Regions from separate parts of the Homo sapiens genome. Here all the other regions are linked to region 4. Evidence: promoter capture Hi-C in 16 types of primary human blood cells and fetal thymus (Javierre and others, 2016). All regions are on one chromosome and are shown on one strand. Each heading gives the region's core, a stretch centred on a gene start or on the middle of the fragment in contact. The rest is flanking DNA. Distances are from core to core; before and after follow the strand shown. Region 1 holds the start of HNRNPDL (heterogeneous nuclear ribonucleoprotein D like). Region 2 overlaps CENPC (centromere protein C). Region 3 overlaps UBA6 (ubiquitin like modifier activating enzyme 6). Region 4 holds the start of COX18 (cytochrome c oxidase assembly factor COX18). Region 5 overlaps STAP1 (signal transducing adaptor family member 1).

The links. Contacts are between HindIII fragments. The CHiCAGO score rates a contact against its expected background, and 5 or more counts as called.
Region 1: a contact is called between the fragment with the promoter of HNRNPDL here and the fragment with the promoter of COX18 in region 4, in 4 of 17 cell types (total B cells, non-activated CD4 T cells, total CD4 T cells and 1 more). The highest score is 11.6, in total B cells.
Region 2: a fragment that was not itself captured here is called in contact with the fragment with the promoter of COX18 in region 4 in 2 of 17 cell types (total CD4 T cells and total B cells); the score reaches 6.0 in total CD4 T cells.
Region 3: a fragment that was not itself captured here is called in contact with the fragment with the promoter of COX18 in region 4 in 1 of 17 cell types (total CD8 T cells); the score reaches 7.4 in total CD8 T cells.
Region 5: a fragment that was not itself captured here is called in contact with the fragment with the promoter of COX18 in region 4 in 1 of 17 cell types (total B cells); the score reaches 6.1 in total B cells.

What each region holds. Positions count from the first base shown.
Region 1 is chr4:82,429,177-82,431,910 of GRCh38, reverse strand. It overlaps HNRNPDL (heterogeneous nuclear ribonucleoprotein D like), which reads left to right and starts at 1,449. Exons shown (of 8, transcript NM_031372.4): 1 at 1,449-2,663. The coding sequence starts at 2,221. It overlaps ENOPH1 (enolase-phosphatase 1), which reads right to left and starts at 1,321. Exons shown (of 6, transcript NM_021204.5): 1 at 998-1,321. The coding sequence starts at 1,081. RefSeq lists enhancers at 731-830, 1,194-1,989, 2,141-2,230, 2,551-2,610, 1,990-2,734 and silencers at 1,071-1,390, 1,511-1,910, 2,281-2,520. The HindIII fragment of the contact is 3,206 bases long and covers 589-2,734 here.
Region 2 is chr4:67,542,107-67,544,818 of GRCh38, reverse strand. It overlaps CENPC (centromere protein C), which reads left to right. Exons shown (of 19, transcript NM_001812.4): 2 at 624-670. Among named protein-coding and RNA genes, the nearest start is that of CENPC, 2.0 kb to the left of the region's middle. The HindIII fragment of the contact is 193 bases long and covers 1,236-1,428 here.
Region 3 is chr4:67,692,191-67,694,890 of GRCh38, reverse strand. All of the region lies in intron 2 of UBA6 (ubiquitin like modifier activating enzyme 6), which reads left to right. Among named protein-coding and RNA genes, the nearest start is that of UBA6, 7.6 kb to the left of the region's middle. The HindIII fragment of the contact is 339 bases long and covers 1,111-1,449 here.
Region 4 is chr4:73,068,127-73,071,026 of GRCh38, reverse strand. COX18 (cytochrome c oxidase assembly factor COX18) reads left to right here and starts at 1,311. Exons shown (of 6, transcript NM_001297732.2): 1 at 1,311-1,710; 2 at 2,898-2,900. The coding sequence starts at 1,378. LOC112268467 (a long non-coding RNA gene) reads right to left here and starts at 1,081. Exons shown (of 2, transcript XR_002959797.2): 1 at 998-1,081. RefSeq lists enhancers at 960-1,476, 1,023-1,542, 1,477-1,992. The HindIII fragment of the contact is 3,732 bases long and covers 569-2,900 here.
Region 5 is chr4:67,577,080-67,579,949 of GRCh38, reverse strand. STAP1 (signal transducing adaptor family member 1) reads right to left here. Exons shown (of 9, transcript NM_012108.4): 4 at 2,691-2,747. Among named protein-coding and RNA genes, the nearest start is that of STAP1, 20 kb to the right of the region's middle. The HindIII fragment of the contact is 7,040 bases long and covers 1-2,870 here.

The DNA of each region.
Region 1 (2,734 bases), core at 200-2,699, 9.4 Mb before region 4:
ATTCACAGATAATTTTTTTTAAAAATGGAAACTAAAATAGAATTTAAAACCCAAGCTGCTCAGTTTCTTGGAAGATGGATTTTTCCTACTTGGTAATATACTTTGTATATCTCGACTATTATTGTGCATGCAAGCACCTCTAAGAAGTACTTGTATCTGCAATGAATTCTTAAACCTCAGGGAGCCAAATAAAAAGACAAGGCCCGAGGAATTCTTTCAAAAATTAAAGTAACATTTCATATTTGCTTATTCTAACAGACAAAGAATAAAGAAGGAATCCGCTAAGTTGCAAGCTGAGGTGCAGACAAGTGCTGGTTCACAGTGACATCCTAGAAGGAATGCTCTGGATAAGAGCTTCAAGCTTCTGTGGTTTTCTGAGGAAAGTGAACGGAATCTAGACGTGTCCTATAGCTCAAAAAATCAGCGCTATGGACCACAGCGCCTAACAGAGTAAAATAATACACTGTGCAGTTTGGCCACTAACAGCAAGAGTGGGAAGGGGCGAAGAGGAACCTTGATTGCCCGACACCAGGGCCACCTGAAAAGTCATCTTGACACTTCAGTCTTTCCATTTTGAGATCGGAAGCTTTAAGGACCATTAAATCGCTGCCGCTGCCACACCAGGCCCGACGGAGCAGAAAGGCTGCGCTCACCTGCGGAAGCGACCGGGTGCACACCTGCCGGGTGGCGAGGCCCGCACCGTCACACCCCGCCCCGGCTTACCTGCCCTTCGGTGATTTTTAGCGTCAACTTCCATCCCTTCCCACCCATCTGGATCCAACCAAGCGCAAGGGCGGGGGAGGGAGAAGCTAGTGTCGCGAGGAAAAGCATCCCCGCAACCCACCGCAGGCTTTCTCTCCTTCCTCCCCATTCCACACAAGAGGCAGCCACACCGCCTCTCCTAACCCTCGTCTCCAATGCAAGGCCTGAAATACTTAGAAAAAATAATAACTGTTTTTAAGGAAAAGTAACATCCCCGCTCCCTTCCGCCCCTCACCTTCACGAAAGCAATCGGGGTTGTGGTACCTTCGATATCTAACAGGATCACGGTGACTTCGGCGGGGACCGAAAGCACGACCATTTCCCTACCGGATGCTACGGGACTCGGCCTGCTGTTGGGGAGGGCGGAGGGCGGCGCCGGCTGCGGCTGCGGCCCCCGGTACCGTCTTGGGCTTCCGGCGGCCCCGCGCGATCTCGGAGCCAGCGACCAAGTGCAGCCCGCCGCGCGTGGGGAGAGGACACTTCTGCACACCTGGAACTGGAAAAGGCGGCCGCCCAGGAGCCCTGAACTCGTGAGCAGGACGGGGCAGGAGCCCGAGACCACGTGGGCAGGAAAAGGGGCGGCCCTTGACGGGTTCGGCGGGGCGGGGAGGGTGAAGGCGCCAGCGCCGATTGGCCGCCGTCAGGCCTCGAACTGGATCCGTCAAAATGGGCCTCGCGTGGGCGGGAACAAAGAAGCGAACGCGGGAGCAGGGTGCGCGAGAGCGCGCCCTCCGCAGACAGGTTGAGCGAGCGGGAGAGGCCCGGGGCACGTGCAGAAAGGAGCCCCGCGAGTGGCGCGCCGGGGATGTGAGTGCCCCTTGCCCTCTACTGAATCCAGCCCCCTCCCCGCCCACCGCCTCCGCCTTTGCATAGATACAGTCATCTGGCCAGCCCCCGCCCCTCCTCCCGGCGTCAGCCCGCCAGAGGCCGCGCGGGGCCCGGGCTTCGGCCGATCAGCCCGGGAGGCCCCGCCGCGCCCCCTTGGCCCGCGCGCCCGTGGTCACAGTGGAAGAGGCGCCCGCGCTGCGCTGCCCGGAGGAGCCGTCGCGCGCCCGCTTCCTGTTCGGCTGGTTCCTGCCAGCTCGAGGACAAAACACGCGTGCGCGCGGCGGGCGAGCGCGCTCGCCGCCTCAGTCGCCAGCGCCGGGCGCAGTCCGCCTTTTTCCGGAGCAGACTGGCCGCGGTGCTAGTCGGTAGCAGCGGCCGCCGCAGCGGCTCCGCACTGGCGAACCGAGGGCAGAAAAAGGCGGGGTTGACGGCTTTTTGGTAGGAGTGGGCTGGACCGGACGCCAGAGACAAAGGCTCCCAAGGCAAGAGGGACTGTGGCCCTGCGTCGGCTCTGCTCGGGACTGCTGACCCCAGGAATTTACGCCCCTTCGTTTTTCTCTTCTGATTCTTCTCTTCTCCCAAGCCCGCGTCCCCTCACGCGTGGCCTCTCTCCTTGCCGGGAGGGCCGCGATGGAGGTCCCGCCCAGGCTTTCCCATGTGCCGCCGCCATTGTTCCCCTCCGCTCCCGCTACTTTAGCCTCCCGCAGCCTCTCCCATTGGCGGCCGCGGCCGCCGCGGCAGCTAGCCCCGCTCCTCCCTTCGCTCGCTCCCAGCTCCGCCCGGCAGGGGGCGCGCCGGGCCCAGCGCCACGTCACCGCCCAGCAGCCCTCCCGATTGGCGGGCGGGGCGGCTATAAAGGGAGGGCGCAGGCGGCGCCCGGATCTCTTCCGCCGCCATTTTAAATCCAGCTCCATACAACGCTCCGCCGCCGCTGCTGCCGCGACCCGGACTGCGCGCCAGCACCCCCCTGCCGACAGCTCCGTCACTATGGAGGATATGAACGAGTACAGCAATATAGAGGAATTCGCAGAGGGATCCAAGATCAACGCGAGCAAGAATCAGCAGGATGACGGGTACCGCACGCTTCTTCCCCCGCTCCCCCTCCCCCAGCGCGCCGCACGCGCCCTTCGTTCCTCGTGAGCCG
Region 2 (2,712 bases), core at 83-2,582, 5.5 Mb after region 4:
AAATGGTGGCCTTTTATGCAGTTCTTGAGGCTGATTTATGGAGCATATGTTATTGACAAACTCTTCTGAAAGACAGCTATCAGTTAAAAGGTACAAGCTGTGAATGACTAATGGGGGCGACAACTCATTTTGTTTACATATTTCTGGACTTCTTTGGTGTTCACTATTCTATATTTCATACTTTGGTTATGGTTACTATATAAAAATCCGTATCATTTCTTTTCTAATTTATCTCCCCTTCTAAGAAAATCTTCAGCTTCGATGATCTCCCATTATGTGACGTTATACATATAAACATAAAGAGTTGTATGAAAGAATAATATAATCTATACTTTTTACTATGAGCACATATATTGTTTACATTATATATAATCAGAAGAAAGCAATAAAGCCATTCTCACTGTGGGGAGAGAAGCGGAATAAAGCTTACCAGATGCCTGCAGTTCAGTTTTTAAATGCCTGTCATAACCTATGTTATGTCATAACATAACCTCAAAATTGTTTTGAGCCCTTAGGAGATGTTTGGTGTATAGCATGCCCATACTGGATGAAGTTACTTTGAAAATAAATTTTACTCGACTCTATCTTAAAGAAACCAAATTGATGATTTACTTTTCTTTCAGGATCATCTCAAAAATGGCTACAGAAGAAGATTTTGTCGACCTTCCAGGTGATTTACGTACTTAAGCTTTTAAGATTATTTTTATTCTCATCGTTAATAGATTTTTAAATGAAGAAAGGAAAAACTATCACCTCTGACTAATATAATGATTTCTGTGCCCACTGATTAAGGGTAGTCATCTTATACTAACGGGAATGTTAATGCAAGCAGTGCAATGACTTTGTGGCTGTGAAAAAAGAAATTCACCTGATAAAATAGTGGAACCAGGAAGAGGGAGTCTCAGTTCTGACTAAGTGACTGCCATGGGAAAAGCATTTTGTAGAATGAATCAAATGGTAAAATTAGAAAGATGTAGCTTATTCAGTGGGGCAAAAAGAAAAATAGTACATGCTGTCGTGCATTTGTTGAGTGCTTGTTTGGGTTGTTTTGGTTCTTCTTTTAGTTGTAAAACCTGTAAAAAGTAAATTTTCTAGTTAAATATTTACTAGTAATAGGATGAAAAGCATGTTTTTAAAAGTGAAGATGTTATTATGAATAACGTCATGTTTATTGAGCTGTGATTTTAGTAGGTCCAATGGGGCACAGAAGTATGTTCTTTTGTTTACAAGAAGCTTAGATTTCTGTTGGGAAAATGTATATGTACATTTGTGAAACAATTTAATGGACAAAAATTATTACTTGCAATACTGAAGTAATGACTTGTGTATCATAGAGAGTAGGCCTATATATAATTAGGCATTAACTTGCAGTATAGACAGCCATGTGAGAAATTAGGGATTTGTGTGTTGTTGATATTAAGAAAAGCTTTAAAGTTGTAGTGTAACTTTGGTGGACCTTGAACAGGTATTTAAAGACTAAGATAAAGTATATTCCAGACATAGAAAGTAACTTAACGAAGGAACCAAAGTAGGAATACATATATTTGTCAGTAGCAGAGAGACCTGATTTAAGAAGGTTGAATATGTTGGGTAGAAGTGGAAAACAAGACCATATGAGTTGGATTGAGCCATAAAATGGATATGTTAGGCTTTAGGCATCTATTATAGGCTTGAATAAGCTCTCCTAAATCTTCTGTGGAATAAGGGCTATCTGATATAAACACACACACACATTTAAAAAAGCAAAGATGTTTGATGTTTACAAAGTAGCTTAAGGAGGGTGTTGTAGTAATCTACACATGGTGGAGGTGCTTTTATGCTAAGGTAATAATGACAAAGGGGAAGAAAAGACGAATTTGATAAATTTTGAAAAAGCTGTTGCCTAATGTGACCTGCGTTCTAATAGTGACTCTGCATTATCACCTTGGCAAATCTGATCTTTTTGGATCTCATCCTTGAAACAGGTAATAGCAGGAGTGTATTTATAGCTGTGCAATATGTGCACCTGTAGGTGGTATTTTGGGGTGATGTCAAGGCCAGAATTTATAATAGTCACCTATATATATTCTGGTAGAAAACCGGCCACTAATACTACTTAGGTTTACAAACTGAGGTAGGCCATTTGACCATTTTGGGTTTCAGTTTGCCTATCTGCAAAATGAGGGCATAGGATTCAGCTAGGGGTTTTTAACTAGATTTGCACATCAGAATTACCTCCATCACCCTAGGAAATCTAATTAAATTGGTTTGTGGGAAGTGACCAATTAAGTGTATTTCTGCAAAGCTCCAAAAGTAACTTTACACATCTATTTGGATGATGATTATTGGACTGGATGATTTCTGAGATCTTTCAGTTATAAAACTTTATGATGGATGACCTGATAATGCACTGTGGCTCACAGTTTTTAATTACTGCATATATAGTACTTTTCCAGCTCTCAATAATAGGAATGTTGTAGATCAGGGATCAGTAAACTCTGGCTGATAGGCCAGCCAAATGTTTTGTCACAGGTTTTATTTCAATTTTATTGGAACACAGCCATGCCTCTTTGTTTACATACTGTCTGTGGTTGCTTTTGGGCTAGAATGGGAGAGTCGACTGGTTGTGACAGAGACTATGGTTTACAAGCCTAAAATATTTACCATCTGGCCCTTTAAGCAAAAGTTTGTCCACTCTGTTAGAGATGCATGTCAATTTTATACTGATTGAAA
Region 3 (2,700 bases), core at 31-2,530, 5.4 Mb after region 4:
TATGCGTGTCTTATTGCAAACATCTAGTTGTTTACCAATGTGCATATTTGAGTTTTAATATCTTCCTTAAGAATTTGTCATAGTGAGGGCAGGAAGCCAGAAATTTATGTGGGTACTAAAAGAGTGAATTATTAGGGAATACTAAAAGAGTTACTGACTACATATAGGTTTTCTTAGTAGAAATACAAAGATGTGGCCAGGCACAGTGGCTCATGCCTGTAATCCCAGCACTTTGGGAGGCCGAGGCGGGTGGATCACGAGGTCAGGAGATCGAGACCATCCTGGCTAACACAGTGAAACCCCGTCTCTACTAAAAATACAAAAAATTAGCCGGGTGTGGTGGCGGTGGCGGGCGCCTGTAATCCCAGCTAGTCGGGAGGCTGAGGCAGGAGAATGGCATGAACCGGGGAGGCAGAGCTTGCAGTGAGCTGAGATGGCACCACTGTGTTCCAGCCTGGGCTACAGAGCAAAACTCCATGTCAAGAAAAAAAAAAAAAGAAATACAAAGACCAAAATGCCAAAATGTGAGATTTTCACACAATAACCAGCTCTTATTTTCTTAGATTTTAAAAATTAACTTAAATGTTTGAGGGTTTTTTTTTTTATAGTGACTGAATCTGAAGATTTGGTAGTTTTGTATTTTTTCTTTTTTTTTTTTTTTTTTTTTTTTTTTTTGAGATGGAGTCTTGCTCTGTCATCCAGGCTGGAGTGCAGTGGCGCGATCTCGGCTCATGGCAACCTCCGCCTCTTGGGTTCAAGCAATTCTCCTGCCTCAGCCTCCTGAGTAGCTGGGACTACAGGCATGCACCACCACACCCAGCTAATTTTTGTATTTTTTTTAGTAGAGGCGGGGTTTCACCATGTTGGCCAGGATGATCTCAGTCTCTTGACCTCATGATCTGCCCACCTTGGCTTCCCAAAGTGCTGGGATTACAGGCGCGAGCCACCGTGCCCAGCTGTATTTTCTCTTTTTAAAAATCTGTATCTGTTGCTTATGGGGACTAGTATAAGACCTAGGACTTTGGACAATGATTTATTTTAGGGACAAGGCATGAAATGAGGATCCTTAGCCTCTTAATATCTCAGGGAGATAGATTTCATCAGTAAGCTTGATGAAGGTAGGGTAAGATAAAGATAAATTCCAGAAGTTCTCTTTTCTCTCCGTTCTCTTTCACACAGCCACAGTTCCGACCATTTTGTCTCATAGTACAAGTCCAAATACTATAGCTTACCGAGTTATTTTGAACATAACTCCAACTTACCTTCTAAAAAGTTATTATTGTAGTAAAAACACATAACATGAACTCTACCCTACTAACAAGTTTTTAAGTGTGTAGTATAGTATAGTTGACACTTGAACAATGAAGGAGTTAGGAGTGCCAACTCCCCTACCACCCTACCTCTTGTGCAGTCGAAAATCCACATATGACTTTTGACTCTCCCAAAGCTTAAATGCTAATAGCCTTACTATTGACTGGAAATTTTACTGATAATGTAAATAATCAATTAACACACATTTTTAATATTATATGTATTATATACTGTATATATATATATACACAGTATTCTTAGAATAAAGTAAGCTAGAGAAAATAAAATGTTAAGAAAATCATGTAAGAAAGAGAAAATATATTTATTGTTCATTAGATGGAACTGGATTATCATAAAGGTCTTCATCTTTGTTGTCTTCATGTTGAGTAGGCTGAGGAGGAGGAAGGGGAGGAGTTGGTTTTGTTGTCTTAGGGGTGGCAGAATCAAAAGAGGTGGAGGCAGAAGGGTAGGGAAAGAGAGGCAGGCACACACAGTGTAACTATGGAAATATGTAACTACTATGTGACTTTTTTTGCTTTCTCATTTCTGGAAAAATGTTTCTATACAATACTGATCCTCCTGTCATTTTCTTTAGTTTCTTTTTGGTGCCCCTGTTGTAGAAGGGTCCATGTCATTAAAGAAATCAATGCAATCTTGAATCGTCGGAACCCTTCTGCCAGATTGTCTGATGTCAGTAACAACGATAGCATCTTCAATGGTATAATCTTCCAGACTTTAATGATGTTCTCTTTCTTGGGGTTCTCTTCCATAGCATTGACAATCCTTTCTATAGAGTACCTTGTGTAATGAGCCTTAAAGGTCCTTTATGATGCCCTGATCTAGAAGCTGAATTTGAGATGTTGTGTTTTGAAGCAAGTAAACCACTTCAGCACCTTCATTGTTGAACTTTGGGGTTCTGGGTGGCCAGGTGTATTGTCCAATAGCAAAAGAACTTTAAAAGTTCTTGCTGGCAAGGTACTTCCTGACCTCAGAATCAAAGCATCAATGGAACCAATCCAGAAAAAGGGTTCTTGTCCAGGCCTGCTTGTTATGTAGCCGGAGGACTGGCCGCTGGTGTTTATCTTTTCCCTCCAATGCTCAGGGGTTAGCAGCTTTATATGTAAGGGCAGTCCTGATCATAAACCTGAAAGCATTTGCAGAAAACAGTAGAGTTAACTATCCATTTCTGCCTTAAATCCTGGTGCTTGCTTCTCTTCCTTACTAATAAATGTCCTTTGTGGCAATTTTTTTCAAAATAGAGCACTTTCTTCTACATTAAAAACCTATTCAGGTAGATATCCTTTCTCTTCAGTGATTTTCCTTATGGCGTCTAGAAACTCATTGCTGCCTCTTGATCGGCAGAAGCTGCTTCTCATGTTGTGTCTGACT
Region 4 (2,900 bases), core at 62-2,561:
GTGATCCACTGTGTCTAGCAAAAATAACTTTAAAATTCTGTTCAGATTATGAACAGCTGAACAGTAGTCAGTAGCAACTGATGGCTTTTTTGTTAGCTTAATAAATGGATAAAGAAATAGATTGGTAGGTTTTTCTTTTAGAAAAAGTTTATATATAGTGTGTGTTGTGCTGTGTGTTTAAACACATTTAAAAATTCATGTATAGATTTATCAGTCAGTTTGGAAAGCAGATGAATTCCAGAATCCTGAGAAAGTTATCGTAGGGTACCCTTGGTTAGGTGCACAGTGAAGGGCAAACAATAGCTGGCGTTTGACATTACCCAACATTGTTGGAGGCTTCTTTTCCTAAGTAAGTAAATAAATAAATAAATAAAAATCAAGGTTTACTCCTCACAACATATTTTAGTCTGTAGTCTAGGGGTGACCCTTCGGTGAGGAAACTCCTCCACAACATTCCATTTTGTTGTTTCCAGGAACACAAAAGTTAAAACTATATAGTCCATGTAGATTCAACGTATTCCTTTAAACCAGAAGACAGCCAGTGCTGCTGTTCAGGCTCTTTAAAGCTTATATAGGATACAAGTAAACTCAAGGAATTCACCGTACTGCCAGTGATAGTTTCCCTTAAATAAAGAGATGATACTTTTACTATAAGATTTTTGCTGCTATTTATCATGGAAGACAAAACACCGAAGAAATTCAGTTTGCAGTTGGTGGTCCAAATACTAACTGGAACAGATGGGCCAATTAAATCTACAAGAGACTGAACTATCCCTCGTGCTTAACACTCAGAGTCAGCAAGAAACATGCGTCTCTCTACAAGCAGGTACTTTAGCAACGTGTGACTCTTGAGTATGATAATCTATCGTAATCGCTAACGGAAGCAATCAGGTGCACGTAAAGAGGTTGGGGATCAGCTTCTGGTCACAAAAAACCGAGCAAGGATAATTCCACTACAAATGACTATTAGCTTTAGTGAAAAAGAATGGTAAGTTACACGGTGTAGATGAACTTTACAAGGCGAGAGCTCCCTAAAGAACACCCAGCCTGGCGGAGGGCAGCAGGCTCCACCCATGTCTCTGCAGTTTTGGTCCGGCCTCGGACTAACTACACCCTAGCAGCGGGAAACTTTCGCGTGTGCGCAGTAGGCCTGTCCAGTGCCGCGTGGGAAAGGCGGGACTTTCCTATCTCTTGCGTCACATCCACTGCGACGCAAGACGTCACCGGCTTGACTGGGAAGGTCAATCGCGGCTGCAGGCAGGCGCGCATGCGCTTTATGCCCGCTGTTGCTGGCGCGTGCGCGTATCAGCCTTGGCTGGCCGGTGTATGTCCGCTGGATTGTGAGGCCCGGGATCTGGGCTCCGCCGTGGTGCAGAAATGCTGTGCCGGCTCGGCGGTCGGTGGCTGCGGCCGCTCCCTGCCCTGCAGCTTTGGGCTAGGGACCTGCCGCTTGCGCCGGTTCCTACGAGCGGCGCCAAGCGCCCCACTCTCCCAGTGTGGGCAGTGGCACCAGTCTCTGCAGTACATGCGAACGGCTGGTACGAGGCCCTGGCCGCGTCTTCGCCGGTGCGGGTTGCGGAGGAAGTACTGCTCGGCGTGCACGCCGCCACGGGCCTGCCCTGGTGGGGCAGCATTCTGCTCTCCACCGTGGCCTTACGGGGTGCTGTCACGCTGCCTTTGGCAGCCTACCAGCACTACATCCTGGCCAAGGTGAGGGGCGCCGAGCCGTGCGCGTACCCTGCGCTGCAACCCCTGCGGCGGAGGAAGGCCGACATTCACTCAGGGTTTTCGATCGCACGATGTTGCCTTCTGCAGTGCTTAGTGTTTAATCATCGTGACCATTTCATTGTGACCATTTTAGCGTTAAAAAAAATTGAACTAGCATTAGGTGTGTTAAATAAGATACTTTGTGACACGTGTACCTGTCATTTCTTTTGTCTTACTGGATTTGTGCTCCAAGCACAAGTGGTTACTATACTTGCTCTCGGGGAACGGAGACAAAGAAATCAGTCGCAGAAGAAATTGTGTTGGCGAAACCTACAAAATTTATGTCTTAAAAGTTTTAATAGCCAGTATGTCTGCAGTGTCTTTCGTCCCAAAGTATTCCAGCTGGTCTTTCTTATTAGGAAGAAACTACTAGACTAACAGTTTGCGAACTTGTTTCCTCTCCAGACCCGACTAAGACTGTGTCTGGTTGGTCGCAGTTACTTGACCTTTTAATGCTGAATCCTTTTTTCTGAGGAATCAGGCTAGCAGTACCTTCCTTGCCTACTTCACAGCGTTATCAGAGCAAGTCAGATAATACGGGTTAAAGTGCTTGATTATTCAAATGGGATATTTCAAAAATAGTGGCTTTCTTGTTTTCAGGTTGTGAGCATGGGGAAAAAAAACCGGAAACAAAACAGGAACGGAATCAGCAGCAACATTAAGGCAGTGAGCCATTTTACAGGAAGAATGAGCACAGGGCAGGAATAAATGCTATTTTTACTTTTGATTTGTGGCTATCACAGTGTATTAAAGGTTCTTAACAAACTGCTGTTTTCTCCGCTTACGTTACTAGGAAATGTAGAGATGGAACAGTAAAGCCCAGGGTGCAGTTCTTATCTAATATTTGTAACCCTGTGAAGTAGGTGCTGTTATATATTTTATATGTGAGGGAACATGATTTTAGAGGTTAAGTTACTTGCACAGGATCACATGGATAAGTATGCATTGTGAATTTGGTTGTGACTGAGGACATTTTAAGCAAATTAACATCTTGTGCTTAGAATTAAGATTTCTTGATATGATCAGTAAACTACATTTTTAAATGACTCGAGGGAATAATGTGAAAGATTATGAGTCATTATGAATAAAGATCCTTTATGTGCTCATAACAAAACCTATTTTTTAGCTAGGTG
Region 5 (2,870 bases), core at 332-2,831, 5.5 Mb after region 4:
AATTTGCAGTGAGCCGGGATCAAGCCACTGCACTCCAGCCTGGGTGACAGAGCAAGACTCCATCTCAAAAAAAAAATGGTATTGTTATCCCCAATTTACAAATGGTGACATAGTTTGGATATGTGTTCCCACCAAAGCTCATGTTAAATTAGCCCCAGTGTTGGAGGTGGGGCCTGGTGGGAGGTGTTTGGGTCATGGGGATGAATCTCTCATGGCTTGGTGCTTTTCTCATGTTAGTGGGTGAATTCTTGTGAGATCTAGTCATTTAAAAGTGTGTGGTCCCTCTTCCCCACTCTTTCTCTTTCCTACTCTCACCATGTGATATGTCTGTTCCCCCTTCACCTTCTGCCATGAGTAAAAGCTCCTTGAGGCCCTTCCCAGAAGCTGAGCAGATGCTGGCACCATGCTTCCTGTACAGCCTGCAGAACCAGGAGCCAATTAAACCTCTTTTCTTTACAAATTACCCAGTCTTAGGTATTTCTTTATAGCAATGCAAGAATGGCCTAATACAAATAGAAAAAAAAATCAAGCACAGAAAGATTAAATAGCTAGTCCAGAGTCAAATAGCTAGTAAGTTATGGAACCAGGACCCAAACTGGGGTTTATTTGATTCAAAAGCAATGTCTCAGCTCTTTCAACTACATACAGTCTGAGCTTCTCTCACTTCTCTACTAAAGTCATCCTAATAACAACATACTGTAAATGTTCATATACCATGATCTGGAATCATAACACAAAACAACATTTACAGAATACACAATTTGAGGCAACTTGTCTTCTCTTAAAAATTCACATGGGCTGGGCGTGGTGGCTCACACCTGTAATCCCAGCACTTTGGGAGGCCGAGGTGGGAGGATCACTTGAGGTGGGAGGATCACTTGAGGTCAGGAGTTTGAGACCAGCATGGCCAACATGGTGAAACCCCACCTCTACTAAAAATATTTTTTAAAAAACTTAGCCGGGCATGATGGTACGTGCCTTTAATCCCAGCTACTTGGGAGGCTAAGGCAGGAGAATTGCTTGAACGCAGGAGGTGGAGGTTGCAGTGAGCCAAGATTGCACCACTGCACTCCAGCCTGGGTGATAGAGTGAGACTCTGTCTCAAAAAAAAAAAAAAAATTCACATAAATTTGATTTTATATTCTGTTACTTATTTATGTGTGTATTTTAATATAAAAATAATGCTTTTTATTTTTACTCCAGGAAAGAAACTAAAAACAAAATGTTTGGCCAAAACTTTATACATACTTAGTGTACCGGGGGGATGCAAAAAGTTTTTGCCAGAGTTTTTAGTGTACTCCTTGATACTTAGTCACATACCTTTGGGATAGTTATACCCGGTATTGGAAGCACCATACCACTCAGAGATATTTTCCACAACAGAGGGAAAGAGTGCAATTCCCCAGGATTCCTTCCTCTCCCTCTCAGAAGTCAACATGTTCTTCACATCTTTAACTGGTCCGCTTTTCTAGCCTCATATAACTTCCCTACACAATAGTTGAACCTCTAACTTTTACCTGTTACTGGCTGAAATAAAGAACCTGCATCCATCAACTTGGTAAAGTGCAGTGCTTATTTCAGATGACTGCAATGGCTTACTTAGAAACTAGCTTTGGATAGAATCTGTGTTTAACTGACTCTAATAAACACAGTTTTTATATCCTTTTAAATTACTAGAGAACATGGTGCTCCTTGGGAGGCTGGTTATCAAAGAACGTCATGTTTCCAAGGCAATTGCTACAGTGGCTTTATCTAAAATAATGGACATTATCTTACTGCAAGAGTTAACTCTAAGCAGTAGATCTTACTATTTGCCTCTGATAAAACACCACAGAGTTGAACAGATAAGCATCCTGTTGTTTTAAGACTCACTGAAGAAATGTTTAAAGGTGAGTTTTCATTTTTATGGTCTCTCCCTGTTACATTGTCTATGTTATTTATAAAATTCATCTTGGCTAGTATTCTATAAATATGTATTAAATAAATAAAAAAGAAATCAGAGGCCGGGCACAGTGGCTCACACCTGTAATCCCAGCACTTTCGGAGGCCGAGGCCGGCAGATCACTTGAGGCCAGGAGTTCCAAACCAGCCTGGCCAACATGATGAAACCTCATCTCTACTAAAAATACAGAAATTAGCTGGGCATGATGGTGCATGCCTGTAATCCCAGCTACTTGAGAGGCTGAAGCAGGAGAATCACTTGAACTCTGGAGGTGGAGGTTGCAGTGAGCCAAATTATGCCACTGCACTCCAGCCTGGGTGACATAGTGAGACCTCATCTCAAAAAAAAAAAAAAAAGAAAGAAAGAAAGAAAAGAAAAGAAATTGGAATGTATTTTCAAACATGCTGTATTAGCTACAAATATCAGAATATACAAAGGACCACTGAGTCAAACAGATAAGACCAAAAAGTAGATCTCCTTTACCACCCGTTACTCCCTAGCGAATTGCCTTGTTTATTTTCTTCATAACAATTGTCACAATGTGAAATGATCATCTGTTTACTTGTTTACTTTCTCCCTCTCCACCACCTGATGAAAATATAATGTTCATAAGTAAGTGCAAGAGTTTAGGTCTATCTTTTTCAATTGCTATATCTTCAGCCACTTTCACTCTGCATGGATCATAGGGTGTTCAGCAGATATTTGTTGAAAAAAAAAAAGAATCAATCAAAAGCAGTGAGCTTCCTACCTCTGTTACTGTAAGAATGAAGCCTCTCCATTCTTCCCCACTTTCTGTGTTCTCTGTCTAAAGTTGAAGACAAAAACAGATAAAGCCAAAGAAGGAAATACATGAGTGATTGAGCATAAAATAAATAATTATGACTGAGCCTAAAAAATAATTCATTTTCTTTTTTTGGCTTAGAACTAC